Linked DNA regions of Homo sapiens: regions 1 and 2 are each linked to region 3. The links are contacts of gene promoters, found by promoter capture Hi-C in human tissues and cell types (Jung and others, 2019). All regions are on one chromosome and are shown on one strand. Each heading gives the region's core, a stretch centred on a gene start or on the middle of the fragment in contact. The rest is flanking DNA. Distances are from core to core; before and after follow the strand shown.

Evidence for each region. Contacts are between HindIII fragments. The study calls those that stand out against the background at their distance.
Region 1: a contact is called between the fragment with the promoter of GPN2 here and a fragment that was not itself captured in region 3, in 4 of the 25 tissues and cell types used here (dorsolateral prefrontal cortex, hippocampus, mesenchymal stem cells and 1 more).
Region 2: a contact is called between the fragment with the promoter of NR0B2 here and a fragment that was not itself captured in region 3, in 1 of the 25 tissues and cell types used here (stomach).

Annotation. Positions count from the first base shown.
Region 1 is chr1:26,887,213-26,891,538 of GRCh38, reverse strand. It overlaps GPN2 (GPN-loop GTPase 2), which reads left to right and starts at 1,256. Exons shown (of 5, transcript NM_018066.4): 1 at 1,256-1,853; 2 at 2,414-2,570. The coding sequence starts at 1,443. GPATCH3 (G-patch domain containing 3) reads left to right here. Exons shown (of 7, transcript NM_022078.3): 7 at 313-1,051. The coding sequence ends at 529. RefSeq lists enhancers at 913-1,182, 1,693-1,862, 1,218-2,095. The HindIII fragment of the contact is 5,015 bases long and covers 1-3,977 here.
Region 2 is chr1:26,912,298-26,916,763 of GRCh38, reverse strand. It overlaps NR0B2 (nuclear receptor subfamily 0 group B member 2), which reads left to right and starts at 2,789. Exons shown (of 2, transcript NM_021969.3): 1 at 2,789-3,355. The coding sequence starts at 2,824. It also overlaps a transcript of NUDC not described here. RefSeq lists an enhancer at 822-1,322. The HindIII fragment of the contact is 33,061 bases long and covers 1-4,466 here.
Region 3 is chr1:26,686,334-26,690,866 of GRCh38, reverse strand. It overlaps LOC105376888 (a long non-coding RNA gene), which reads right to left and starts at 1,685. Exons shown (of 3, transcript XR_001737950.2): 1 at 1,630-1,685; 2 at 502-576; 3 at 55-91. The HindIII fragment of the contact is 5,506 bases long and covers 1-4,533 here.

The sequences.
Region 1 (4,326 bases), core at 7-2,506, 200 kb before region 3:
TCTGACTTTTTTTTTTTTTTTAAAGAGTAAGCCCTAAGGCTTAACAAGATCATTCATACCCTTTGTTGGAGGAGTTTGGACTTGATGGTTACTATTAGGAAGTCTGTAGTGACAGAATGAAAATTTTATATGAGGCCCCTTCTTGCTGGCACTGTCAATGGATAGATAAGAGGGCTGGAGAACAAAGACCCAGATTTAAAGCCTCTGTCTTTGGACAAACCAGATATGTAGTAACTACTTCCCCGTCCTCTCCCAACCCCTTTAACTGGAGTTTGAGAGCAGCCTTCTCACTGAGAGCCCGTTTTTATCCAGGTACCATGGAGAGAAGCTACAGCCATTTGGGCAACTGAAGAGGCCCCGTAGAAATGGCTTGGGGCTCATCTCCACCATCTATGATGAGCCTCTACCCCAAGACCAGACGGAGTCACTGCTCCGCCGCCAGCCACCCACCAGCATGAAGTTTCGGACAGACATGGCCTTTGTGAGGGGTTCCAGTTGTGCTTCAGACAGCCCCTCATTGCCTGACTGACCGGGTTGGGGGCTTCCTTTCATAGCTACATGATGAAAACCCTCTGCCCTGGCCTCATCTACCACTGAAGCAGAAAGGAGTCTGGGAGCAGCAGTCTTCGTGGCTGGTTCAGGGTGTTTTGTTCCGAGCCTGCCTGCCTGCCGGTTCTATACCTCAGGGGCATTTTTACAAAAAGCCCCCTCCCGTCCCCTCCCCTTGGATATTAGGGGTAACGACCGCTTGTCTTTGGTCTCTAACCCTAATCTCTGGGCTTGCCCTTTGCCTCCTGCAGAACTTTGAAAAGCTGGGTTGAGTGAGGCTATCAGCACAGCCTTCCTTGGGGACTCTGAAGGTGTCCCCACGAAGGCCAGAAAGGGGGAAAGGGACCTGGGCGAGGAGAGGATTTGTGGTGCTTGGAAGAGCCGGCCTTGGGTGGGCCCTCCACCGCCTCTACCCTCACTGGGTGGGACTGCCAGCGGAGAGTCCGCGGGAGGTGGCTTGGGTGTGCGACGTCACGGAAGAATAAAGACGTTTACTACTGGAGCTCCCTTACTTTTCTAATTCGAGTCTGAAGGTTAGAGAAATTCCGAGAGCGATTTTCCCGCAAAGACCCCACATTCGACCCACTACCCGCGAGAGAAATGCGGCTGCGCCGCCCGCCCCTCGGCGTCTAGCTTCGTCCCCGCCGTGAGGGCGGGACTTCCTCTCGTTGGCTCGCCGTTTCCGACGCTGTCCGGAAGTCGAGTTAGTCTAGTTAGTATCGGCCTGTTATCTCCTTTTGCGCGACACGGTCTCAGCTGTTCCGCCTGAGGCGAGTGACGCTGGCCGCCAACGAGGTATACGTACTGGGACCCTCGCCCTCAGTCTCGTCTCCGGCGCGGCTACCTGCCCCGTTTTCCCTGTGAGTTGACCTGCTCCGGGCCGCGGGCCGCCAATGGCAGGGGCCGCTCCGACCACGGCCTTCGGGCAGGCGGTGATCGGCCCGCCGGGCTCAGGGAAGACCACGTACTGCCTGGGCATGAGTGAGTTCCTGCGCGCGCTGGGCCGGCGCGTGGCGGTGGTGAACCTGGACCCGGCCAACGAGGGGCTGCCGTACGAGTGTGCCGTGGACGTGGGCGAGCTGGTGGGGCTGGGCGACGTGATGGACGCGCTGCGCCTGGGGCCCAACGGCGGCCTGCTCTACTGCATGGAGTACCTGGAAGCCAACCTGGACTGGCTGCGTGCCAAGCTCGACCCCCTCCGCGGCCACTACTTCCTCTTCGACTGCCCAGGCCAGGTGGAGCTCTGCACGCATCACGGCGCCTTGCGCAGCATCTTCTCCCAAATGGCGCAGTGGGACCTCAGGGTGCGTCTCAGGGCGGGGAGGCCCATTTTGCGGATGGAGTAACTGAGACAGGGAGGACAGACGCCACGCCCCCATGTCACACAGGGAGGTAGGGGCTGGGTCGCTTTGGAGTAAAACAGGCATGAGTTCAGAATCTGGCTCTGCTACTGACTGGCTGTGTGGTGTTGATAAGTCAGTTCATCACTCTGAACCTCAGTTTCCTCACGTGTAAAATGTGTTAGTAGCCAACTTGGCGATTTTGGAAGTATGGAAGGGGTTAATGTCGAAAGTGGCATGGAGATTGTTGTAAATTGGTGGGCAAAAGTAAATGAAAGAGTGGAGTCAGATGCCATGGGATTTAAACCCCTTGCCCACTGGGAGGCTCAGTGCAAGACCTCTTGTAAGAAAAAAAAAATGACTCCTATTTCCTGGGAGAAGGAAACCAGGGTGGTTATTAGAAAGAAACAGAGGCAGGAGACTAATGGGGAAAGCTTCCCCTCTGTCCTCAAGCCCTCATTCTCATGAGGGAATGCTGATCCCTGTTTCTCCAGGCCACTCTCACCCTGTCTATTCCCTCCCAGCTGACTGCCGTCCACCTCGTGGATTCTCACTACTGCACAGACCCTGCCAAGTTCATTTCAGTACTGTGTACCTCCCTGGCCACCATGCTGCACGTGGAACTGCCCCACATCAACCTCCTTTCCAAGATGGACCTCATTGAGCATTATGGGAAGCTGGGTAAGAGCTTCTGTTCCAGGCGAAGAGCAGGGCAGCAGCTGGGCTAGAATGAAGCAGACATCTCAGCTGAAGGTAGCTGCCTCTGGTGCCTTGCGTGGTCTGGTGATAGTAGCCACAGGCAGGTTCTAACTCCTGCCCATTTATTTTGTGCCACTCTGTGCTAGTTACCGTTGTAGATTTTGGAGACAAGAGAGCTACAGATGGTGTTAGGTGTTACAAAGGAATTAAAGTGATACGACAGTGAATATTTGGGAGTGAAGTGAGTGAGCTTTGGAGTAAAACAGGCATGAGTTTAAATTCTGGATCTGCCACTGAATCATCGTGTGGTCTGGGTAAGTCAGTTCATCTCTCTGGACCTCAGTTTCTCACTTCTGCTCTGAAGCAGTGGCATCTGAGCTGAGACATGAATGGTGAGAAGGAGCCAGCCAAGGGAGGACTGTTCTATGCAGAGGCACTAGTAGGAATAAAGGCCTTGTCTTAGTCAGTTTGTGCTGCCATCACAAAAATACCATAGACCAGATGGCTTAGCCAATAAATATTTATTTCTCACAGTTCTGGAGGCTGGTAAGTCCAAGATCAAGACACAAGCCGATCTGGTGTCTGGTGAGAGTCTGCTTCCTGGCTCCTAGACAGCCTCCTTCTGTCCTCACAGAAGGAGGCTATATTCTCACCTGGCACAGAGACAGAGAAGGGGTGGGAGGCCAGGGACAAAATAGGGAAGATTGAGGTAGAAGCAGGCTGGTATGAGGCAGGGGAGTTGGCTAGAGTCCCAGTGGCCAGCTTTTTTTTCTTGATAAATTAGTACTCTCGGCTGGGCGTGGTGGCTCACGCCTGTAATCCCAGCACTTTGGGAGGCCGAGGTGGGCAGATCACCTGAGGTCAGGAGTTCGAGACCAGCTTGACCAACATGGAGAAACCACATCTCTACTAAAAATACAAAAAAGTAGCCAGGCATGGTGGTGCATGCCTGTAATCCCAGCTACTCGGGAGGCTGAGGCAGGAGAATCGCTTGAACCTGGAAGGCGGAGGTTGTAGTGAGCCGAGATCTCGCCATTGCACTCCAGCCTGGGCAATAAGAGTGAAACTCCGTCTCAAAAAAAAAAAATTAGGCCAGGCGCAGTGGCTCACGCCTGTAATCCCAGCACTTTGGGAGGCCGAGGCAGGTGGATCACGAGGTCAGGAGCTTGAGAACATCCTGGCTAACACTGTGAAACTCCGTCTCTACTAAAAATACAAAAAATTAGCTGGGCATGGTGGCGGGCACCTGTAGTCCCAGCTACTCAGGAGGCTGAGGCAGGAGAATGGCGTGAACCCAGGAGAGGGAGTTTGCAGTGAGCCGAGATCATGCCAGTGCACTCCAGCCTGGGCGACAGAGCAAGACTCTGTCTCAAAAAAAAAAAAAAATTAGTACTCTCCTGAACTGGGGACATTGTTCCCTAAATAGCATCTCTAGCAACAAAGGAACCTAGAGAAGACAGATAAAATGACCAGCACATGAGCAATAGGGAGGTTGTTGGGAAAGGGAGGTGTCGGGACCTTGTCCAGGGAGGCCAGTTAGCTTCTAGTCTGGACATGGAGTGATGTAGAGTCCTCAGCTTACTTTAGGATAGAGCTGCCAGGGAGCCCAGATACTTAAGTTTTCTGGGCAGAAACAGGCCACTAGGGGGAAGTCCAACTTACTTCTTTTAGTGAGAAATGATTTATAAAACTGAATCAGGGACCTCAGCATCATCTAGTCCTTATTTTACATTAAGAA
Region 2 (4,466 bases), core at 1,540-4,039, 230 kb before region 3:
AGCTGGTCTTGAGCTCCTGGGCTCAAGCAGCTCACCCACTGCAGCCCCCAAAGTCCAGATTACAGGTGTGAGCCACCGTGCCCGGCCAGTTCTTGGTTTTTTAGTATGATTCTAGTGCCTACTTCATGCTTTCTAAATATTATTTTCCACTAAAAGATTAAATCAGAGCTCTTTGGAGTATTGGTTGATTCCAGGGGCTGGAAAAGTTGATATCTTGCTATACCAGAAAGCAAGTGTTCCAGGAATTATGGAAGCAGGCCAAAATGACACAGACACCAGCTTGAAAGGGTTCCCATTGACCACATTGATCAAATAAATATAAATATTCAGGGTCTAAGGGGAGGTTTTGTGTGTGGGGTTTTTTCGTTTTTTTTTAGACAGAGTCTTGCTCTGTCTAGAGCAAGGCAGGAGGGCAGTAACACAGTCATAACTCACTGTAGCCTTGAAGTCCTGGGCTCAAACCATCCTCTTGCCTCAGCCTCTCAAGTAGTTGGGACTACAGATATGCCCCACCACACTGGCTAATTTTTTTTTTTTGGTAGAGATGAGGTCTCACTGTGTTGACCAGGCTGATCTTGAACTCCTGAAGCCTCAAGTGATCCTCCCACCTCAACTTCCCAAAGTGCTGTGATTACAGGCGTGAGCCACCGTAACCGAGTGTGTATTCTATTCTTAAAGAGGGTCCTCCAAATCGTAACCTTCAGGCCCCATAAAACCAATATCCACCTCCAGAAATTCTTGTCACTGTTTTAAAAATGAGGAAACTGAGGCACAGAAAGAGAAAGTGATTTGCCCAAGGTCACTCAGCTAAGTGAAGCAGGATTTGAACCCAGCCAGTCTGACTCCAGAGTCTGCTTCAAGGGGACACTGTGAGAATTCAGTGAGATTTAAAAACATGAAAGGAACTTTATAAATTTAAGGATTAAGACTAATAATCAAATGAAAGAGGTGTGCCTGTTTGTCCACTGGTGCTCAGCTCCACAGAGGAAAGGGGCAGAAAAATCCTCCTACCGTATGCCAGAAACCACTTGGAATTTAACAACCAGGACCTCATTTTGTCCCCATGGCAGCCCTACAGCCAGGCATTATTGTCCCAGGGAGGCTTATCGAGGTTCAAGGATCAACCCAAGTCACATAACCAAAAAGTGATGGATTCTGGAGCAGATGCCAGGGCTAGTGATGCCAGAGCCTCTCTCTCCCCATCCAGGGCACCAGGCTGCCCAACAGCATGCAGCAGAAGGCTTGCCACACTGGACTGGCCAAGGTCCAGGAACATGACACAACCAAGGGCCTCTCCACCTTCTCTCATCCCCTGTGCTCCACCATCTGAGAAAGATGCCCGGGACAGAGGAGCCACGTGGCAGCAGAGCAACACTTCTGCCCAGATCACAAGTGGGCAACGTCTGCAAAGCAGGCAGCAGCAAGGTGGGGGCAGCTAGCCACAAGCTCTGAGAATCTCAGGCTCTGGCTGTGCAATTGGGCCAGTGGGTCCAGGGAAACAAACAAGGACTTTGGAGTCAGGCAAGATCTGGGCTTTGTCTTCCTGGTGGGATGACCTTGGGCAAGTCACTTTAGCTTTTTTAGTCTCATAAAGTAAGAATCTAGCCTTAGGAAGAGGCTGCCAATATTAGAGTGGGAAGTGCCTGACACATAATAAGTGCTTAGAGAATGGCAACCATATATATACATATATATATATATATATGTATGTATGTATGTGTATATATATATACACATATACATATAAATATACATATACATATACATATACATATACATATACATATATATTTTTTTGAGACAGGATCTTGCTCTGTTGCCCAGGCTGGAGAGCAGTGGCATGATCTCAGCTCACTGTAACCTCTGCCTCCCAGTTTCGAGTGATTCTTTTGCCTTAGCCTCTAGAGTAGCTGGGACTACAGGCACATGCCACCATGCCCGGCTAATTTTTGTATTTTTAGTAGAGACGGGATTTTGCCATGTTGGCCAGGCTGGTCTTGAACTCCTGACCTCAAATGATCCCCCTTCCTCAGCCTCCCAAAGTGCTGGGATTACAGGCATGAGCCACCGTGCCCGGCTGGCAACTATCTTTTATTATAATTCTGTGAGTTCTTCTCAGCAGACCTGGCCTTTCAGGAGTGGTAGGAATCAGGCTGGGGATAAGGATTCTGAAGGACCTTATTCCTGCAGGGGGCCCAGAACTGGAATCAGAGGAGGAGGCCTCCTAGATTGGACAGTGGGCAAAGTCCTCCCAGCCCCCAGGGTCCTGGCTCCCTTCCCTGTAGCCTGCTTCTGGCTGACAACAGAAGCAGGGCCCCAAGGTTAGGCAAACAAGCTAGTGATAAGGCACTTCCAGGTTGGGCCTTGCATTCAAGGCCCACCCAGCTCTGGGGCTGGCTTCCTGGCTTAGCAAAAGCCCTAGTCTTTTGTGCACACAAGAGCGGGCACCAATGGGGACACCTGCTGATTGTGCACCTGGGGCCTTGGTGCCCTGGTACAGCCTGAGTTAATGACCTTGTTTATCCACTTGAGTCATCTGATAAGGGGCAGCTGAGTGAGCGGCAGGTGGCCCTGTGCCCTGCACCGGCCACTTCATTGACTGAGGTGATATCAGTGCCACGTGGGGTTCCCAATGCCCCCTCCCCCACCACTTCCCCACCATTCCTGCCAGGGGCAATGTCTGTGTGTTTTTTTCAATGAACATGACTTCTGGAGTCAAGGTTGTTGGGCCATTCCCCCCGTTCCACTCACTGGGAATATAAATAGCACCCACAGCGCAGAACACAGAGCCAGAGAGCTGGAAGTGAGAGCAGATCCCTAACCATGAGCACCAGCCAACCAGGGGCCTGCCCATGCCAGGGAGCTGCAAGCCGCCCCGCCATTCTCTACGCACTTCTGAGCTCCAGCCTCAAGGCTGTCCCCCGACCCCGTAGCCGCTGCCTATGTAGGCAGCACCGGCCCGTCCAGCTATGTGCACCTCATCGCACCTGCCGGGAGGCCTTGGATGTTCTGGCCAAGACAGTGGCCTTCCTCAGGAACCTGCCATCCTTCTGGCAGCTGCCTCCCCAGGACCAGCGGCGGCTGCTGCAGGGTTGCTGGGGCCCCCTCTTCCTGCTTGGGTTGGCCCAAGATGCTGTGACCTTTGAGGTGGCTGAGGCCCCGGTGCCCAGCATACTCAAGAAGATTCTGCTGGAGGAGCCCAGCAGCAGTGGAGGCAGTGGCCAACTGCCAGACAGACCCCAGCCCTCCCTGGCTGCGGTGCAGTGGCTTCAATGCTGTCTGGAGTCCTTCTGGAGCCTGGAGCTTAGCCCCAAGGAATATGCCTGCCTGAAAGGGACCATCCTCTTCAACCCCGGTGAGCTCCCAGACACTCCTGGGTGGGGGGCAAGGCTGAAGCAGGGGCCAGCCAGGGAAGGTAGCTTCTAAGGGTTTGATATCTGTTATCTCATTGGGTCCTCATTTTCTTTTTATTTTTCTGAGACAGAGTCTCACTCTGTCACCCAGTCTGGAGTGCAGTGGTGCGATCTTGGCTCACTGCAACCTCTGCCTCCTGGGTTCAAGCAATTTTCTCTGCCTCAGCCTCCCGAGTAGCTGGGATTACAGATGGCCGCCACCACTCCCGGCTAATTTTTGTACTTTTTAGTAGAGATGGGCTTTCACCATGTTGATCAAGCTGGTCTTGAACTCCTAACCCCTCAGGTGATCCACCCACCTTGGCCTCCCAAAGTGCTGGGATTACAGGCGTGAGCCACCGTGCTTGGCCAGTCCTCATTTTCATCAAATAGCCATCTCACAGAAGAGGCACAGAGAAGCTAAGTGACTAGCTAAAGGTAACACAGCCAGGTAGGGACAGACCAGGATGGCAACTCAGGTCTATTCACTCCAGAGACTGGCCCTTGCCACTCTGCCTGAGAAATTTGCTCTGACCTTTACAGAAGGCTGTGGGGAGGTGGGGTGGGCAGACACAGCTGTGTCTCAGTCACATCCTCAAAGGAAGGCTGCATGGTGAAGCTCTAGAGCTAAAACTCCTCTGTGGGTTCAGAAAGATCACATAGAAGAGATGACTGAAAGGGGCGTAGGGAGGACAGGAAAGGAGTCTTTATGGAATTCGGCCAGGAGAGCGGCAGATGGAGACAGTGCTGTTTGTAATCTGGAGAGCATCTGAGATGAGAGTTCCCCAGGAGTCCCTTGTGGCACGCATAAATCGTAGTAATTAATTGTAATAATAGTAGCAAATACTCATATCACACTTACCATATGTTAGGCCCTATTCTAAGGGTTTTACATATACTAGTTCATTTAAATCTCATAAAAGCCTAGGAGACAGGTCCTATTAATATTATTATTCCCGTTTTACAGATAAAGAAACTGAAGCCCAGAGATTAAGTGACTTGCCCAAGGTCACCCAGCTAATAAGTGACAGTGCTGGGATTCATACCCAGGAAGCCTAATTCTTAACCATTACT
Region 3 (4,533 bases), core at 962-3,461:
TTACTGAGTTAGGAAAAAGAGTCAGTGGGGAAGTTTCTCACAGCAACTCTGGAATGGATCTGGAATGGAGTCTTTTATTCCAACACAAGTTCTGTAGAAGAGTTGGAAAGAGAAGGAAAAAACAGTGTAAGCACAGACAAAATGGAGGGAGGCAGGCATGCAGTCCTATGAAATAGGATAGGTGGCTAAAAAAGCAAATGTGCTGTCTGTTCTCTGCAAAGCAACCACCTTAAGAGAATCCTCCAGCATGATGATACTGGGTGTTTTTGTATAAGAATCAAAGAAAATCCAAAGAAATCTATTAGGTATAAGACAGGAATTGAGTGGCCCCTAATGAAAAACATTCTGACTAGCTTTAATAGGGTTTAAACCCATCTATCCCTACAGAAAATGCCTATTCCTAAAGATAAAATGGACCAAACAAAAAAGTCAGGCGTGGGAGTGACTACTATAGTCATAGTAGCAGTGTGGCACTCCACTCCAGTGAAATGCGGAACTTACCAATGACACCAAGGGAAAGCTGCCAGGAAAAATCAGACTGAGTTTTGGCACTTTTCCACATTATCACTTTCTTCCCTGAAATTTAACAATATTGAAACTGGATTCAGAAGTCACCAGAGGGGTTGGGGGTAGGGACCAGCAGGTTGGTTCTTATTGGCCTACCCCTCCAAAGAGACTACTAGAGACCTGTATAGAAGTGTGTTGTTGCTCTTCTAGTCTTGCTGTGGGAGGGAGAGAACAGGAGACAATGGAGGAAATAATCCAGCACACTTCATCAAGCCTATCCAACAAGCCATTTAAAAACAATACGGGAGGCCGAGGCTGGCAGATCACTTGAGGTCAGGAGTTCGAGACCAGCCTGGCCAACATAGTGAAACACCGTCTCTACTAAAAGCACAAAAATTAGCTGCGCATGGTGGCAGGCACCTATAATCCCAGCTACTCAGGAGGCTGAGGCAGGAGAAAATCGCTTGAACTCAGGAGGCAGAGGTTGCAGTGAGCCGAGATTGTGCCACTGCACTCCAGCCTGGGCAACAGAATGAGACTCCGTCTCCAAAAAAAAAAAAAAAAAAAAAAGCACGGAAACACACACACACACCTCTATCACAATGTGTATTCATTAATATAACTCATCCGCAAACTACACTCAAGAGCACACAGTGTTGTGCAACATTAGGCACTATTTTTGCCCCAAACACCAAAACCAGGATGGAGATTACACATTTTTACTAGGCCCTTTCGACTTCAGAACAAAGCCCAAGAGCTCATTGAAGTATTTTTCTCCTAATCACTCACAGCTACTTAAAAATATGGATACTCTAATTAGCTGGGCGTGGTGGCGGCCGCCTGTAGTCCTAGCTACTCAGGAGGCTGAGGCTGGAGAATGGCGTGAACCCGGGAGGCAGAGCTTGCAGTGAGCCGAGATCACGCCGCTGCACTCGAGCCTGGGTGACAGAGCGAGACTCCGTCTCAAAAAATTAAATAAATAAATAAATAAATAAAATATGGATACTCTGTCTAACAAAAACCCGAGTTTGTGGCTAACGTGTTTGCCCCTTTAGCCCAGATAAAGTTGGAAGTCCAAAGGGTTTAGAAAAGAGGGATTCTAGTTGACTCCACCACACCTACCTTCCAGTTCTTTATGAAGTAGTAGCCAGTGTTTCCAAGGTGGAATCAAGGAGAGTGGAAGTACCACACAACCTTCGGAAAGAAAATATTCTCTAGGAAAAAGCTTCAAGGTGAAGGAGGTTGCAACCTGATTGGCTACTGAGGGTTTTTAGGAGTCCATCATTATTAGTACAATTTGTCACTGATTGTAGAGAGGGTCGACAGAAACCATTTTATAATCTCAACCAAGTAATGTAGACCAAGACCGCAGTCTCTACCCTAAATACTCACCTTTCATGATGAAGCAACTTTACCCTATGCACTTGTTCATCCTCAGCAATCCTTGAGTTGCACATGCTCTTCTGACCCACTTTCCACCAAAATCGGTCTTCTCCTAAGACTTAGAAATTTTTGTGAGCCTGTTATTCTTTCAACTAGAAATTAACAGTATGATGATTGCTAATAATAACCATTCCAAAGCTGTATTTTAAAACTTCATTAAGTACCTTGTTCCTTGATTTAACTACCTCCTGGAATACTTATTAATGCTATAGAAATTACATTTAGCGCCGGGCACTGTGGCTTACACCTGTAATCTCAGCACTTCGGGAGGCCAAGGCGGGCGGATCACCTGAGGTCAGGAGTTTGAGACCAGCTCAGTCAACATGGTGAAGCCCTGTCTACTAAAAATGGAAAAATTAGCTGGGCGTGGTGGCGGGTGCCTGTAATCCCAGCTGCTTGGGAGGCTGAGGCAGGAGAATTGCTTGAACCCAGGAGGCAGAGGTTGCAGTGAGCTGAGATAGTGCCACTGCACCCGAGGGCAAGACTCTGTCTTGGGTGGGGGGTCGGGGGGGGGGAATTACATTTAGCTACTACTTGGCAGTAGAATTTTATTTTACTTTATTTTATTTATTTTTTGAGACAGGGTCTCACTCTGTTGCCCAGGCTGGAGTTCAGTGGTGTGACCATGGCTTACTGCAGCCTTGACCTCCCTGGACTCAGGTGGTTTTCCTGCTTCAGCCTCCCTAATAGCTGGGACTACAGGCATGTGCCACCACATCCAGGTAATTTTTAAAAATTTTTTCGTAGAGACAGGGTTCGCCATATTGCCCAGGCTGGTCTGAATTCCTGGGCTCAAATGATCCTCCCACCTTGGCCTCCCAAAGTGCTGGGATTACAGGCATGAGCCACTGCACCCAACTGGCAGTAGAAATTTCTGAAATTCCACAATAAAATTCATAGGAGAGCCCTGCAATAGCAGTAGTGCTAGGACTAAATGCAGTGTCAAACAGGAGCAGTCATGCTGTGCCATAACTGTTCACTGACATCACCTTTTGACTGCCTGTGAGTGATTCATATTCTCAGTTATCTGCTAATGTGAAGATTAATTAATTTAGTAGGTTCTTCACCATTGCACACCGTGCTATAGGACCAAGTCTCCCCCTCACCTCCACCACACACATGCACACACATACACACAAACCTCTGGCATCATATTTTTGTGTGTGATGCCAAAATATGAGAAATATTTAACAGGAACAACAGGAGAAACATTTTCTTTTTTTCTGTTTTTTGAAATGGAGTTTCACTCTTGTTGCCCAGGCTGGAGTGCAATGGCCCGATCTTGGATCACGACAACCTCCACTTCCCAGGTTCAAGCGATTCTCCTGCCTCAGCCTCCCAAGTAGCTGGGATTACAGGCATGCGCCACCCCGCCAGGCTAATTTTTGTATTTTTAGTAGAGACGGGGGTTTCTCCATGTTGGTCAGGCTGGTCTCGAACTCCCAACCTCAGGTAATCCACCCGCCTTGGCCTCCCAAAGTGCTGGGATTACAGGCATGAGCCACCATGCCCGACCCAGGAGAAACATTTTCTAAACAACTAAAAATATGCAGGGGACCTGGATAATAAGGGAGGTTTGTTTTCTATTGTGTTTAAGGTTTTTACTTCTGTGTTTTTAACCCCAGAAAACACACACTCGCTCTCTCTCTAAATATATATATATTTTTATATATATATATATGTATGTATACTTTTTTTTTTAGGGATCAGAGACGCTGGCCAGGATTAAGGTTATACCAAACATATTCCACACTGCCATTTTCCAAACTAAATGAAATAGCAAAAACGTGGAGAAGGAATTTACAGGAATGGAGTACTACAAAGACAGATGAAAACTCTACAGAGGTGTTCTTCTTGGAAGTGAGTGGGAGTAGGAGATGAGGAAAGGAAAGTTAAAGGCTTATGCCCTACTCAGTATTCAAAGCAAGGAGCATATAGTTTGAGAGCTAGCTCTACTTTTGAGACAAATGTCTAGACTTTCATTCTAAGTCAGGTTTCCAAATGGCTGTATCCATTCATAAACTGTAATAACCAGGATTTCAAATAGACTCACAAAATCCAGTTATAAGGACTATGTCTGCTTAGAAGCATCAGAGCAGAGGGTCCCCTCCAGTAGAATAGCCATCTCTTCACTATGATATTTTGAAACCAGTTTGCCATTTTCCACTTTTTGGTTTGGGATGTCAATCCTTTCATTCAGTTTACTATAAATGGGAGATCCTCTTATAATTACTCTACTATGATATACAACATTGAGTATACACTACTGTTGTACCTCCCATAAAGTACATTATAAGCTGATATCTACTTAAAAGGAAAAACATACCTCCAAAATAGTACAAGCCTGTTGGATTCAATATTTGTTTATAAGTTCCTAGCACTCAGATCAAGATCCCTCATTTTGTCAGGTACAGTGGCTACTCGGGAGGCTGAGGTGGGAGTATTTCCTGGGGCCTGGAATCCAAGGCTACAGTTCGCTATAATTGTGCCTGTGAATAGCTACCACACTCCTGGGCAACACATGGAGATGTCATCTTTAAAACAAAAACAGGCCAGGCCCGGTGGCTCACACCTGTAATCCCA